2 separate regions of the Homo sapiens genome follow, and region 2 is linked to region 1. The links are contacts of gene promoters, found by promoter capture Hi-C in blood cells and fetal thymus (Javierre and others, 2016). All regions are on one chromosome and are shown on one strand. The core of a region is centred on a gene start or on the middle of the fragment in contact, and the rest is flanking DNA. Distances in the headings are between cores, read along the strand shown. Region 1 holds the start of INTS4 (integrator complex subunit 4). Region 2 overlaps GVQW3 (GVQW motif containing 3).

Evidence for each region. The method cuts DNA at HindIII sites, captures the fragments that hold promoters and counts their contacts. A CHiCAGO score of 5 or more calls a contact.
Region 2: a contact is called between a fragment that was not itself captured here and the fragment with the promoter of INTS4 in region 1, in 1 of 17 cell types (non-activated CD4 T cells). The highest score is 5.0, in non-activated CD4 T cells.

Annotation. Positions count from the first base shown.
Region 1 is chr11:77,993,175-77,996,038 of GRCh38, forward strand. INTS4 (integrator complex subunit 4) reads right to left here and starts at 1,494. Exons shown (of 23, transcript NM_033547.4): 1 at 1,416-1,494. The coding sequence starts at 1,469. RefSeq lists an enhancer at 1,409-1,608 and a silencer at 1,809-1,878. The HindIII fragment of the contact is 5,814 bases long and covers 1-2,864 here.
Region 2 is chr11:76,381,429-76,384,292 of GRCh38, forward strand. It overlaps GVQW3 (GVQW motif containing 3), which reads left to right. Exons shown (of 2, transcript NM_001347885.2): 1 at 1-865. The coding sequence starts at 401. Among named protein-coding and RNA genes, the nearest start is that of GVQW3, 1.5 kb to the left of the region's middle. The HindIII fragment of the contact is 1,517 bases long and covers 493-2,009 here.

The sequences.
Region 1 (2,864 bases), core at 244-2,743:
CCAGGCATTAGCTCTGCCATCAAGGACCTCCGACTGGTGGGAAGATAGGTACACCGGTAATGACAGCAGCACTGAACAAAAAGTACAAATAGATTAGTACCACAGAATGCTACAGAAACAGGTGAAGAAGAGACTAAGCTCTCGCTGAGGTTTCATTTGGGTCTTGAAGCACAAATGTTAAGTCCACTGGGTGGAGAACAAAAAGAAAGGGAAGAATGGCATGTATTCTGTGAGAAGAGACAACCAGTGCAAGAGTTTTGAGATATGCAAACACAAGAACACATGGCATATCTGGTCATGTGAGGATGGGTGGAAGAGGGCTGAGCAGTCTTGGGAAATGGGAACAACAGAATGTTGGGAAGAGAGGAAATCACATTGTGCAACAGTGCTAATGTTCTTAATGCCACTGAACTTTATACTTAAAATTGTTAAAATTGTAAATTTTATATTATGTATTGACATATTTTGTATTTGTATTAACATATTTTAATGCTGGATGAATGAATCCATGTAATGTTTAAGGATCAGTATCCTGCTGGATGCTCTAAGCCTTGCCACTCTACAAGTCTAAGGATCTAAGAATGCAACCAATGCACTGGTGTAAATTTGGGGGCATGTCAGGAATGCAGAATCTTGCCTCACCTCCTCTGCTTGACTTATCAAATAGAATCGACATTTGAACAACGTCCCCAGGTAATTTGTATACACATTAATATCTGAGAAATAGGACATCAGGATGATTTAGGATCAACCCTAGCAACATCTACGTGGAGACACATGGAGCATCACTGACTCCCGACAGGGACTCTGCCCACCTGTCACAACTTCATGGTGAGGAAGGTACTGCCCTCCTTCCTAGGTGAGCTGTTCTACCAATAGAGAGCTCTTCCCCTATGAAGTCTGTGACCCCCGCCTGCTTAGACTGCGCCTGAAGGAATTCTATAGACCCTTCTTTCAGCCCCTTAGAACCTTGTGTATATTCCAACTGGTCCCTGGGAGGTTTTTTTTTGGAACGGGGGTGCGGGGAGGCTAGAAGGGGCTCTGCTGCTAACTGGCTGTATCCTCGTACCCCTCCGGAAGGCTCAATGTCCACATCTGGAAAACGAGGATGCTAATGTAACGCGATGGAGCAAAGTTGTGTGAGAGAATAAAATGAAATAACGGATAAGACAGTTTCGTAAATTAAAAAACACTGTTTCTCCTAATAATTTTTTTAAAATCCTGTCAGACTTCACATATTAATGACAACAGCGGCTGCAAACTAACACGCCCACTAACTTGCAATATCAGAGATTATCAACAAGTCAGCACTTAACACGGGCGTATGGAGCCTCTTCTGTTCCGGCAAAGTGCCTGGGATTTGGATAATCTACCCTGGTCCGGATCGGTTCTGGATCTTTCCCGCCAGAGCTTACCTGAACCACTTTCGTGAATTCCTCATAAACCCGCTTCTTAAGGTGCGCCGCCATGCCTACCCGCGGGCCCTCTCAGCTTCCGTACACTAGGAGGGAGGCGGGGGTGGACGGATCCGGAAAACTTGCGTAGGCGCGGGGGGTGGGTGGATGACTTGCCGAGATCCCACAAGGCAGTGGGATTTGGGGAAAGAGCGACCGCTTCCTGTTGCTCGACTGCCTCGCCACTGTACGGACTGATTTGGCGGCCTACGCCGGAAGAACGGAAATAAGAGCTTCGCTTGTGGGAGGCGGGGCCTCTGGCGGGAGGAGCTGAGACTGAAAGGGTGGGCAACCCAATGGGAGCTTTGGGAGGCTGGTTGGTGGCCTCGGAGTGGCTAAGAGACTAGCGCGGCGCGGCGCGAAGGGAGGGAGGGAGGAAGTACAGGTTAAAGGGCAGAGGCGGGGTGCTCCAGAGCTAGAGGCAAAACCCGGAGCTCTGTAAGGGGTTTACGACTCGTGAAAAAACTCAGAGGCTCGGCTGACTTTCCCATCATCCTTTGCTGTACACGATGCTGTTTGTAGGTTTCCTGAGCACTGCCTTTGTTCAAGCTGTGCGCCACCTCTCTTGTTTTGGGGTGCCTTTCCATACTTCCTTATTCCAGTTTTGCAAAAGCTGCCATCCTTTAAGGCATCAATCCCTGCTCTGATAGCTATAGTACAGTAGAAGACTTCTGAGACCAAGGATAAAGCAACAAAGCTACAGACTACAGCTCTGGTTCTTGAGCAAATGGCTCAACTACAAATGCATTTATAATAACTAACCTGACAAAGATGTGACAATGGAGTGAAATAATGCAGGAACATTTTACGGACTGTAAGGTGTAGTGCACATGTTAGTGTCAGTAAATCCAAGGTCAAGTTTTACAACCTACATGAAACTAGCTGTTCATTATTTTGGTCTTTCAAAAGAATGTGGGCCAGGCGCGGTGGCTCATGCCTGTAATCCCAATACTTTGGCAGGCCGAGGCGGATGGATCACTTGAGGTCAGGAGTTCGAGACCAGCCTGGCCAACATGGGGAAACCCCGTCTCTACTAAAAATACAAAAATTAGTCGGGGCATGGTGGCACACGCCTGTAATCCCAGTTTCTTGGGAGGTTGAGGCAGAAGAATCACTTGAACATGGGAAGCGGAGGTTGCAGTGAGCCGAGATCGCGCCACTGCACTCCAGCCTGGGCGACTGAGCGAGACTCCGTTATCAAAAAAAAAAAAAAAGAATTAATGTGGGATAGTTTAAAAAAAAAAAAGCAGGAGGCTGAGGTGGATACAGAGGACCCAAAAATAAACAAAAGATAGTATTTATCCTCAAGGTCCTACAATCTGAGAAGACAGACACCCAAACTGATGGTGACAGTGCAACTGAAATGTGCTGGGTAACGGGAATGAATGTGGTTCAAACAGACCTAATTTC
Region 2 (2,864 bases), core at 1-2,500, 1.6 Mb before region 1:
TCACCGATGCATCTCTTCTTGCTTGCTTAATTTGCCACCACTTAGGCCTTTCTTGCAGAATTCGCCATATACTCCTTAAGGGCCGCGGAATCGGAGCGACCTTGGTGACTGGCAAACTCTCGGCAGATGTGCGTGCACTGGTTTGATGCAGACGTGGTTGTAGGCGATTTAATTTTTCCCAGCTTTGCAGCGACTGTTGGCTTCCCAGAACGGATCTCCCCAGCCTCGACTGGAAGCTGAGGGACAAAAATTCATAAAAGCAATTACTCTTTCCCGGCGAGGCTTCTAGAAGAGCAAGAAGAGCGATATGATTACACCTGCAGCCCTATAAAGATTGATCTGTCCGTCTTTCCCTTACAGTCGTGGCCTGTTAAACGTTCCTGTGTTGTTCAGTGCCAGAATGAGTGACCGCTATTTAGAACAAAGGATTAGTATCAAATTTTGCGTGAAATTGAACAAGTCTGCAAGTGAGACCCACCATCTTTTAAAAGAAGCTTATGGGGATGAAGTCATGTCAAGGGCCAGAGTTTTTGACTGGCACAAAAGGTTTAAAGAAGGACGGGAAGATGTTCGAGATGATGCCCGAAGTGGGCGTCCAGTCACCCACCGAACAGATGACAATATCCAGAAGGTCAAGGACTTGGTTTGTTCAAACAGGCAGTTAACCGTGAGGATGATGGCTGAAGAGTTAAATTTAGACAAAGAAACTGTTAGGCTCATTTTGAAAGAAAACTTGAACATGAGGAAGATTTCTGCAAAAGTTATTTCGGGTGTTTTGAAGGGTGAGCCTAAACCACGAAAACTTGACTTTCGGTCCGATCTTTCAAAGGAAACTAGGAAAAATAGCTCATGTTTGAGGAAAAAGGTAACAGGTTCTGAAACATGGAGTTATCTCCAGGGTGAAGCTGGTGGGGAAATGCCCCTGCCGGTATCCCATCCCAGAGTCCACTACTCTGCCAGTCAGCTTCTGCAGGCGTCATCTTCAACAAGCCTTCCCCCCAGGGTAGCTGAGAATTGGTTCACCCCATGGTGAGAGGAATGTGAGTTAGCTGAACCAGAACTAGGATGCTGCCTCACTGTTAGGCACCTTCTTTGGCTGCTCACGTATTTTTCAGTCTTCACCACTCCTCCCTATGTGCCATGGCCCTCCTCATTACTCTTTGCTGGACTCTTGGACCATTTTCCTTGCTGTTCTCCATAACTTTGAAAAACTTTTGGCTGTTCCCTTCTGGTATTTGCTTGTTCTTGATTTCTTTTGCTCAACAAGTTTGGATTTCTTCTCTGCCCAGACCTTAGCTTGTTGTGGCTGTCCTGTTCCTTTGTTCTCAACCTTCTGCCTCAGAGGATCATGCCAGTGAGAAGAGAGGAACAGGATCTCCTGGAATCTGTATCTCTGTGCCCAGGGAAGCATGCTTTTCTGGGAGGACCCCAAAAGAAGGCTTACAGTTTCAGCCTGCTTTGCAGTCAGGGCCTGAGGTATGGTACAGAAGGTAGTAGCATGCTGGTATTACTGAACAGTGCTGGGCCTAGGGGCTGATCTGGCCCAGATGACTCAGTAGGCACCCTTAGGAATCAGGGGTTGGCCACCAATACTGATCTTCTCACAGGCCTACACCTCACAGAAGAGCTGGGTTTGTTTCATTCTAGTCCTATGCTTTGGACCTCCACTCATTTGGGTATCACCCCTGTTGGAAGAGGAGGATCTGGTGCTAGAAAATATAAACCCGGGGACCCAGGCAAGGCTGTGTTGTGTGGGGAGGAAGACCAGGTGGCTCTCTAGTCCCTGAATTAAGGGAGCCTGCTGCCTATGTGCGGATTCCCACACAGCAGCCTGTTTTTAGTAACTAATGCCTATAGTTTTGAGAACTTGCTGTTTTTAGGACACTGCTGGGCATTGACAATGTGGAGGTTATGAACAAGATCTCCAAGGGCTGATGGGCTTCATGGATGAGATGGTTCTTGAACTGGATCCATGAGGATGGGTGAGACAGGGCTGTGAAATTAGGGAAAGCTTCCGGGGCAGGTGGAACAGCATGAGGCTTCCAACCTGCATCAGTAGAAAATGACACTGGCCAGGTGTGGTGAATCACGCCTGTAATCCCAGCACTTTGGGAGACTGAGGTGGGTGGATCACAAGGTCAAGAGATCGAGACCATCCTGGCCAACATGGTGAAACCCCGTCTCTACTAAAAATACAAAAATTAGCTGGGCGTGGTGGTGCACACCTGTAGTCCCAACTACTCAGGAGGCTGAGGCAGGAGAATCTGTTGAACCCGGAAGGCAGAGGTTGCAGTGAGTGGAGATTGCGCCACTGTACTCCAACCTGGCGACAGAGCTAGACTCTGTCCCAAAAAAAAAAAAAAGGAATTAGAAAATGATGACACTATTGGCTAAAATAACAAAGTTTAAAGAGGAAGATAATGGTGTTGCAGCAGATGAACAATTTGGGATAATTTGCTTTCTCTCCTAAGCCTCCAACTCTATGCCACTTGTTGTTAAATTGCTTCCCCTGAGTCTGTGAATAGGTTTGTAACAACCAATTTGATATCTGATTTTCCATTTGGACCCCGACAAGCAGTTTCTGCAAGTTCAAACTCTGTCTCTTCTCTTCCTGCCTCTGCCAGGATTTATGGAATGGAACTTTTCCCAAGTGGGTTCCAAGTAATACCACATAGACTGGAAACATTCAGGGGGCAGGGGTTTGGTAATAGCATTTCACAGAATTGGCCAGTCTTTGTTTTACTCAAGGATTTTTAGATATAACAGCTCCTCTTAAACAATATTGCTTGATAGTAGAGGCACAACACTCATTCATCACAGTTACTTTTAGTGCTGTTCTTTCACTTTCTCTACTCACCTCCAAA